Regions from separate parts of the Homo sapiens genome. Here regions 1 and 2 are each linked to region 3. Evidence: promoter capture Hi-C in 16 types of primary human blood cells and fetal thymus (Javierre and others, 2016). All regions are on one chromosome and are shown on one strand. Each heading gives the region's core, a stretch centred on a gene start or on the middle of the fragment in contact. The rest is flanking DNA. Distances are from core to core; before and after follow the strand shown.

Region 1 (3,228 bases), core at 201-2,700, 3.1 Mb after region 3:
CACCACCGTGGACTAAAACTAACAAAACTAACAATTTATGATATTGGCACCCTTCTTCCCTATGTCATTCACAGGTCTGCTTCATTCCTACGGATTAAACACCTCTCCAGGATCCTAGATTCAAGCCATTGCTTCTCGCATTTCCACCTTCTCACTCCTAAATTAAATGAGGGCTGGCTCTGTCCAAGAACACAATCTTTACTTTGTAGAGAAGGTATCTACCTCACAATTGGCTTTGCATTTCTCCAAATTCCAGACTTCTGCTGGCAGGATGTTCTAGTCCCAAAAGTGACTCCTGGCGAGGCCAGATTCTGTTCCCACCATAAGGGATGGAGCCTCACAAATATGCAGCTATGTGCCTTTGTAGTCTCAGCCTCTCAAGAGTACATTTTCTTTAGAAATAGTTATCCATCTCTGCCTGTTGGTAATCACTAATTAAAGGTTTGGGTAAGATTTCCTCGCAGCAAGAATCCTGCTATGAATTTCCTTCCTCCTAAATCTTAGTCCCTTGCGAGACCACACCAGATGCCAATCTTGTACAATTAGGAGGTGGATTCAGAATCTGCCAGGATTCTGAATCCTGCATGTGACTGCACAAGCTTCTCATCCAACACATACACAGAGGACGCTGGACAAACGCCTATGCTTTGCTGCCAGTTCATGCTGGGCTCCAAACCCTATCAGATCTCTTGCCTCAGCAGCTGGACTGAACAAAGTGGACTCCCTGAGGTTACTTTTGCCCTCCTGACTTGAGAACGTCCCAGACACCAATCCCAAGGCAGTGAAGAGATGAAAAGATGAAAGCATTACAAGAGTTAACAAAAGCCGAGTCGCCAGAGGTCACTGACGGGGAAAGTCTCTCAGCCCACTTCTGTTTATAACCACTTTATTCCTTCAACAGAATCCCCTGCAGAATCATTTCTCTAAAACCTCCATCTATATCTGAAATCCCCATTTTGTCCTGGAGTCTCTTCAGAGATCTTTTTTCTTTGGAAGGAAGGACGGAAGCCTTGAGCACCCCCTGGAGGTAGGCGTGTGCTAGTAAGCGTCTCCTTGGACTGTGGTTCTTTTTGTACCAGTTGGTAGTAGCTTTCGTACCAGTTCGTTGATACTTTTGTCACCTGGATTGCTGACTTTCGCTGGTTTCCAGTGCTGCCTCTAGGTGACCTATCTACAACTTCTATGACAGCTGACTGTCATAGGGGCTTCCACCTTCTTTGTATTCTAGCCTTGATAAGGGGAAGGATCCCTTGCCCTGCTGCAGAAATAAAACAGCCTGTTTCTCAGCCTTGTCCTCCATTTTCTCCTGTAAGACAGTTTGTTACTCATACAATTCTACTTGACATCTCTCCAACTTGCGTTGCTCCCTTCTTCTGTATCCTTATTACTGCTCTTCAATTTGTGTAAAATTATTGTCCTACCTTCAGCCCTTATCCTTATGAAAACCTTTTCCATTCTTTAAAAGCCCAGTTCACTGGCCACTTTCCCCACACCTACCTCTGAAATCCTGTAAAACTTATTTACAAAGTTCTTATCATACACTGCCTTGTATTTTAGTTATATCTGTATATATTATCTTACTGTATCCAACCAATTACCCAGCACGGTGTCTAAGATGCAGTATTCAGTTAATAATCATTAGATAAAAGTTGAATTAAGTTGTTGAGGGCTGTTTTCAAACACCCAATTTTCTAAGAATAGAGAAAACATTACTGTTAAAGATGAAAAAATACAAAGAAAGGAAGAAATAGAAGAAAGAGATGGGGCAGACAGAGATACAGGAAAGAATGGTGACTATGTAACTATAAGTCATGACGAATTCTCTCCTGAGAATACCAGTATGTTATAGAAAGAACACTGACTAAGTGTCAGAAAACTCAGCTCAAGTCCCATTTGGTTTTTAATGAACTGAATGATCACTAACCTACTCTCTGGGCCTCAGCGTTTTCTCTAAAGAACCAAAGCAGTGGGTTATATGACCTCTGAAGTTTATTACCATGTTGACATTGTATGACCATCTCTCTATTCAAGCATAGTGGTAGGATGGCGCTCAGATTGCACCTGTCACAGAGACTGGCATACTATGTGTGCTAATAAGTGCCAGTTCCTCTTTTCTTCGCACATAATGGAAATATTCTGCAACATTCTCAATTTTAATAAGGAGAAAAGTTCATCTTTATCCATTGAGGATAACATGGTAAAAGAGAATTGTACTACGTATTTAATTTAATTTTATGGAAGAATTTTTCAGTGGTTAAGTCTATTTTTAATTCCAGGTCTTGCCATATGCTGTTTCAAGGGGAAGCTTCTATTCTACAACAAACTACTTTTTGAGTCAAATGAAGAACTGAAAAATAGTTAGGCTTAAACAAATTCTTAGTCAACCACATCATGGTCTGGAAAGACACAAAAATCATTTGGCAAAGATTGCTCTAAATACAGTGAGAAAGGAGAAAGGCAGCAGGTGATGCCAATCAAAAAGGAGAATGCACTTTGGGAGGCTGAGGCGGGTGGATCACAAGGTCAGGAGATCGAGACCATCCTGGCTAACACAGTGAAACCCTCTCTCTACTAAAAATACAAAAAATTAGCCAGGCGTAATGGCGGGCGCCTGTAGTCCCAGCTACTCCGGAGGCTGAGGCAGGAGAATGGTGTGAACCCGGGAGGCAGAGGTTGCAGTGAGCTGAGATGGCGCCACTGAACTCCAGCCTGGGCGACAGAGCTGGACTCCGTCTCAAAAAAAAAAAAAAAAAAAAGGAGAATGACTTTAAATAAGATATTAGGAGATTCTGGAGAATTAAACTAAAGTTTTTGGAACCTATGACAATTGCAGATGTTCAGATTAATATGTGTAGGAACAACTTTTGTATCCGTGATTTTAAAGGAATAAGGAGTTCTATTTGTGGGACTTTTCACATTTACTAAACTTTAGTTCTTTATTTTTCTAAAAACTGATTTAATTTCACTATTTTATCAGGATGTTTTCCTGACTTACTTAAAAGAAGTCTAAACTACCTGCCATTCCTGCAAAAACATGGTGTTCTTTCACTCGTCTGTGTTTTTGTGGGTGCTGTTTCCTTCTCCTGGAAGTCCTCCCTCCTATTCTACCCTCCAAAACCTATTTTAAATCTCTGTGAAGACATGCTGTACTCCAGTCAGCAAAGTAAGTTGCTCCACTGTGGTCCACCAGTCTTGGCTCATAGCTCTCTTATTTTCATAATCACTGAG
Region 2 (3,116 bases), core at 128-2,627, 3.2 Mb after region 3:
AATTGAAATTGCCTACGGGGATTTTGATGTGGGGCCGAGAGCAAGCAGGAACTAGGCAAAGGAGAGTGGTTCTAGTGATTGCGTGGGTCTGAGAAGTCTGCCCTGAAATCAGTTTGCATGTGATGGGGAGTGTTTTGGCCTTTGGGGGGATTTAAGGGGAGAGTGCGGGTCTGAGATTCTAGTAGTTTAAAAGGCACGTTAGAGACTTTTCTAAGAAAGTTGGAAGGACGGGGCAGAGTTAGGGACCCTGTTAAAGGAGCGTAAGGGTTGTCACTCTAAGACCCTTGTGGAATTTTCAGGATGGAAAGTGATCTTCGATTTGCGGAGTTTGGGAGACTTTATTAAAGGGGGTTTTGTGTCCGCCTCCGTCCTGTCCGCGGAGACCGGGTGCGCCTGAAGGTCGCCTTTTCTGTAGGAGGAGCCGAATTGAGAGGATCGATTTTTGATTTGGGGGTGGGGAGTGACTACCTTTGAGGAAGTAAGAGTGGGTGATTTCTTCTTTGAACGTTTTTACTTAAGATAAAGGTGAGGGGGGTGGCGACCTGGAAGATTTTGGGCAACAGTGGTATAGGCAGATGTATTTAAGTGTGGGTTCCTGGCTTCGCCAAGTGCGCGATGTTTTGCAATCAGATTTTTTTAAGCTCTGAAATGGGTATTCGTAATCATTCGGTACCAACATTTAACCCAACTGAGTTTTAATTGACTCGCCAGTAAGAGCCGAATTGACATAAATAAGTTTTCAGTTTCATGTTTTAGGTTGATAACCAGTAAGGTCAACGAAGTATCTTGACAATTTATTCAAAGATACTACTCCAAAATGTGATTCTCCTTCTCATGATATATAACAACTTGTGAATATCTTTTAAAAAATCCTTAAAATGTTTCAGAAGAGTGGCGTAAGTTCTTCATTTTCTCAGTTTGGCTAGTTTTAGGAATAAATGTTACATCTTCTACACGCAGTTTCTAAATTCTGTCATAATTCCTAGCTGAAACATATAATGATGTCATGACTAAGATTTTCACGGAAAAGATGGGAAAGGATTCTTTTTGCAGAGACAAGATAGATATTCTTGGGATTGTCAGTTTGTGGGATCTTAGACTTCAAATTTCAGAAAAGCTTGGGTGTTAAGTGTTACTTTTGTATTTTTCACCCGATTGTGCGCCCCAATCTCACTGTACATTGGGATCTAACATTTTTTACCCTCTTCTTTTTATTATTTGAAGACCGTTCATTTTATTTCTGCGTTTTCTTAAATTTCTCTAGGCAGATTAGAGTATTAAGAGCACAGATGCTGGATCCAAGTGATAGGTTAAAATTTCTGTTCTATTAGCTTGACCTCGAGCAAGAGACTGACATAATTGTCTTAGTTTCTTAAAAATGAGGATGGTGGTGTATGGTATTTACCTCATAGAGTATTTGTAAGCATTAAATGAGTTAATATAGCTAAAGTACTAAGAAGAGTGTCTGCCCCATAGTAAGTACTATACACATGTTATTTATTTATAATAATTACTACTACTAATTTTATGATTACATAGAATAATGTTTCTGGCTCTTCCACATACTTAATAATCAGGCAAAATATAATGAAACTGTCAGACCTGTTTAGAATGAAGAAACTTGCAAAGGACAAAATAAAGCTTATTTTCTTCTTGCAGACCCTTACAGGAAAACATATTCTTTGCTGCAATTTTAAAGCTGTTCAAGACCAAATGATTGGATTAGTTTTGTTTTGGTTCCTCCATTTGGATAGCCTTAATTTTGTGTGTGTGCGTGCGCATGCCTTGGAAGCCTTAATCTTGTAGAGTCTTCTCAAAATAACATTTTTAGATGTATGAAATACAGGATATGAGGTTACAAACAAATTCAATTATAAAATTGTACACCATGTTATAAAATATTTCTAAAACAAATTTTAGATGTAGTCCTATACTATATGTACTTTATTAGCACATTAAGTAACAAGATCTAGCAGCGGGTCTGATAGTAGTGATGGGTATAAACACTTTTTCGAAGTGTAATATAAAAATACTTGATTTCCATTGGTGGCAGAGTCACAACTTCAGTAACATTAAGCATGTGTTACCTAGATAATAATAGAAGGAAGTGCTAAATTTTAAAGGTGGCAAAAATTAAGATGCAATTTTTTTTCCCCATTTGAGTTCACAAGCCTTCTGAATTTCATCCATGTACCCCTGACTTAGGGGCAGTAGTAAGGTAAGGGAGTAGAGAACATTGTATAAAAATGAGTTTAGAAAAGATAAGGGCAATAGTTTTACTCTTGAGGGAGCCAAATAATGGCAAAAGGCCAAAGCAGATGGGGTGTGGGGGAATATGTTTTTGTGTTAGAGTTCAGGTAACCTGAGCAGTTACTACTGTTAATGTGAGTCAGAGAATTACAGGCACATATTTTACATTTATTGTGTTACCTGCCATTTTATTGAACTTTTTGAGATCATATGACTGCAGAGTAGTTGGCTTCTGCGAGAGTACTAATGGATGCCTTGGTAGTAAGATCAGAGGGCTGAATCTGGAGACTTGTCTTTTTGCTTAAGCAAAAGCAAAGATGCAGGGAATCCCTGTGGCAAGATGCAGGTGCAAATTACTGCCCTGTGTCTCTTTCCTCGTTGGGCAAGTGAAGATGGTAGTACCATGTCTGTTGCACAGTATCATTCTTTACTTTGAGAATGGAATAGGATGGAGGTCACCCTGTACATATATTAGACACTCAGCAAAGACTTGATTTTAGTTTAAAGATAAAATGGAAGCATGGTGGCTGTATTACATTTTCATTTGATTCCATCTTGATTTGCCTTGGGAGGAGATGGGTAAATTAAGTGATCAGAAGTAAAATAAGCAACGTGCCCTATTAACGAATGTTTTGTGTGGCCTCTGTATTGGCAGCTCAGTGTTTAGCCAGAATGTAAAGAAACTGATATATAAAAACGTCTTAGAGTTTTTAAAATTTCAGTTCTCTAGTGTTAAAAGGTAATTTTACAGAAAAAATGGCAAGTGAACACATGTTGAAACTTTTACTCAGAGGGAACCAGGCAAATGTTATACAGTAATGGTTAACCCGCAAAATCAAAACAGTACAAATTTATTAATATATGGA
Region 3 (3,030 bases), core at 531-3,030:
GATGTGGGTGGGATGGGGTGGGGTGGGGGGAAGAAATGAAAGTACAGGAGAGAAGGGTAGGGTGTCCAGAAGAGCAGAGCGTCATCAACAGAGAGACGCAGAGGCAAAGGCTAACTGTTGATCTTTTCCCAAATCCAAAAGCTGCTCATTGGCATCCCAATAAATCACTCTACTACAAAGCCCATACAATGGACTGTCCTTTGCATTCAGCATCAAGCAGCATTTAATGAAATATCACACAGCTACAACTTTGGAGACCTAAGGATCTGAATTTAAAATGAACAAAATTGGCTTAGCAGCAGAAGACAGCCAGTAAAGAATTTCGCCCATGTCTGACTCAGCTAGGAAAAGGTTTAGCATTCTAGAGTTAAGCAAATACTCTGGCATTTCTCCTTCTTTTGACATTCCAAGAGGGGGTGTGGTTGACCCCAGGCCCATTCATTTCCAAGGGTGTAGATCTCTCAGCCAAGACTGGCCCCATCTGTTGTGGAGCCAGCCAGCTGTTTATCTCAAAGTAACATATCTATTGCCCTAATTATCCCTATAACTCTTACAAGAGCATCATGTAAGTCAGAATGCTTTCTCTCCTGTTAAATGTCAGTTCGTTTAAAAAAACAACAATAACAAAACAACCAAAATCACTCTTCCATGGGCACCTTTCAGTAATGGCAAATGAAGGTTAACAGCGCTTCTAACTTTCCCTTTCTCTAATGTGTTAAAATGAACCCCTCTTCCCTAATCGATCTCTTCAAACCGTTATTTGTGAGTAGTGACTATGCCTCAGGAAACAGCAGCTCATTATGGTACCATTGTCAGTGGCAAAGAGCCTATGCAATGTAATTTAAAACACACAAGCACAAATCTGTCGGCTCCACTTCCAAACAATCTTGAATCCAGCAGTCGGAGAACGGAAAACATTTAACAAAAACGCTGCTTCCAGCAGCCTGAAAGAACCTTCGCCAGACACGTGAAATGTTTCTGACTGGCACGGAGTGCACCATTAAAGGACACTGTCACCTCAAATCAGCAGAAAAGGCGAGACAAACCACATAGACATACACACATAAAATAAAGCCCTACAAAACTTAAGCACGTTCATCTTAAAAATTAATAACTAGTGCTCGTCCAAGCGACATTCAAATGTTCTAAAGTAGTGCGACCACATTAATTCACTGTCTCCATTTCTCCCCACGCATCACCCCTTCCCACTCAAACCTCAGCTCTCGGGCCGTGTGTGACAGGACTGCAGTCCCCCACCTCTGCCTTCCTCAGATTTTCCAAGAGCACTCCCCAACATCCTTCCCAGCCCAGCCCCCTCTCTCCGCCTCAAAAAGGTTGAGAGGAGTTGCGACTAGGGAATTGGCAGGCACCCGTCCTCTGGCGGGGGAAGGTTGCTGGAGTTGTTCTTTGCAGTGACCCAAATGGCACAGAGCTTTTCCCCTTAGCTGTGCCTGCAAGCCTCTCCCCAATCCCCCCCACCTCCCCACCGCTCACAGCTTCCCAAAAGAAAGCCTTGAGAACTAAGCGGGAGGAATAACTTGGTAGAAGCATTTGAATAAATCACTTCAACTCACCTGGTTTGGGATTTTTCTCCCCACCCCAGGCATAAACAGAAATGGATGTGCGAATGAGTCACGCACGCAAGGGAAGGTCTGCGATGTCCTGAGTCCAAGGGCTGGAGTCAGTCCCTGCCCTGGTGCTGCTGCTACACTTAGCTCAGCTGGAGCGAGCGGCAATCGCAAGCCCAGCAGCAGCAGGGGGTGGAGAGACCGTAGCACAATGAATGCAGTGGGGCTTTTGCAATGACATCATCCCTCTGTCCAAACGTCCCCAATAGCCATGCTCGGGAGCGGTGCTTTCTGGGAACTGTAGTCTTCTTACGTCCTGAAGGGATACCCAGGCAATCCCCGAAACTACAATGCCCAAAATGCTCCAAGTGGGACGCGCCCAGAGTGAAGGAGCAAAGGGGACTCGGCCGCCATGTTAGGAGTACTGGGACGATTCCGCGGAGCCGGGCAGAGGTTTTAGGGGTGCGCAGGAGTCAAGTGGTGGTTCAGTGGGGACGGTGAGGTGGAGGACGATCTGGTCGGATAGCCGCGGGCACGAACCTGGGAACCAGAGGGTGGAGGCCATGCTGGGGACTGATGTAGGGCGGGACCGACTGGAAGCGGCATCCAGAGGCCCAGTGAGCCTCGGTCTCAGCTCCTGAAGGGGTTGCATGGGGCCCTACGCTTCCTTCTCCATTTTTTAGCTAAGAGATTGAGAGAGTCGGTTTACTTTTGGGCTTGGAGTATCATTTAGATCTGTTAACAGTACAGTTGAGAGAGTTGGTGTCTTTTGTTGAGGTGCGAGGACCCGAGGCGGCGACCCTCGCCTTTATTCGGAGAAGCCCACTTCCACCCACAGAGTTGGGGTAGTCCTCCGAAATGCATTTTTGTTTTGCCGTTTGTTTTCCAACCCCCTTTCACTCTCCCCAAAGCTTCAGATTCACTGATTTTTCATACAGGAATGATTAACAAAGGCGTCCGAAGAAATCGTTGTTGGAAGGTGACCAAGGTGGAAAGAGACGTTGCTTTGGCCCTGCAAGTAAGAAGAGAGAGGGAATAGCCTGAAGGAGTAACACTAAATTTAAAATGACACTTTTTTACCAACCAGCGAAAGCAGATGTTCAAAGGGGATATTGGCCAGGTGCGGTCGCTCACGCCTTTAATCCCAGCACTTTGGGGGCAGACGCGGGGAGATAGCGTGATTCTAGGAGTTCAACCCCAGCCTGGGCAACATGCGGAGACCCCGTACCGTCTCTACAAAAACATTAAACAAAAAAATTAGCTGGGCATGGTGGTGTACCCCTGTAGTTGCAGCTACACTAGAGGCTGAGGTGGGAGGATCGCTTGAGCCCGGGATGTTGAGGCTGCAGTGAGCCTCGATCCTACCACTGTGCTCCAGCCTGGGCGACAGCAAGCCCGTGTCTCAGAAAAGGCGGGAGGGGTGGGATATTATTGATGATAGGCCTTCTGACGTCTGGCAATA

What was found. The method cuts DNA at HindIII sites, captures the fragments that hold promoters and counts their contacts. A CHiCAGO score of 5 or more calls a contact.
Region 1: a contact is called between a fragment that was not itself captured here and the fragment with the promoter of RAB30 in region 3, in 2 of 17 cell types (naive B cells and total B cells). The highest score is 15.4, in naive B cells.
Region 2: a contact is called between a fragment that was not itself captured here and the fragment with the promoter of RAB30 in region 3, in 1 of 17 cell types (total B cells). The highest score is 12.0, in total B cells.

Annotation. Positions count from the first base shown.
Region 1 is chr11:86,217,634-86,220,861 of GRCh38, forward strand. No RefSeq gene overlaps it. Among named protein-coding and RNA genes, the nearest start is that of EED, 26 kb to the right of the region's middle. The HindIII fragment of the contact is 1,706 bases long and covers 598-2,303 here.
Region 2 is chr11:86,245,482-86,248,597 of GRCh38, forward strand. All of the region lies in intron 1 of EED (embryonic ectoderm development), which reads left to right. Among named protein-coding and RNA genes, the nearest start is that of EED, 2.3 kb to the left of the region's middle. RefSeq lists a silencer at 2,166-2,460. The HindIII fragment of the contact is 524 bases long and covers 1,116-1,639 here.
Region 3 is chr11:83,070,117-83,073,146 of GRCh38, forward strand. It overlaps RAB30 (RAB30, member RAS oncogene family), which reads right to left and starts at 1,781. Exons shown (of 5, transcript NM_001286060.2): 1 at 1,575-1,781. It overlaps RAB30-DT (RAB30 divergent transcript), which reads left to right and starts at 1,950. Exons shown (of 3, transcript NR_038903.1): 1 at 1,950-2,030; 2 at 2,507-2,688. LINC02951 (long intergenic non-protein coding RNA 2951) reads right to left here. Exons shown (of 3, transcript NR_186233.1): 3 at 2,286-2,580. RefSeq lists an enhancer at 1,734-2,223. The HindIII fragment of the contact is 10,527 bases long and covers 1-2,477 here.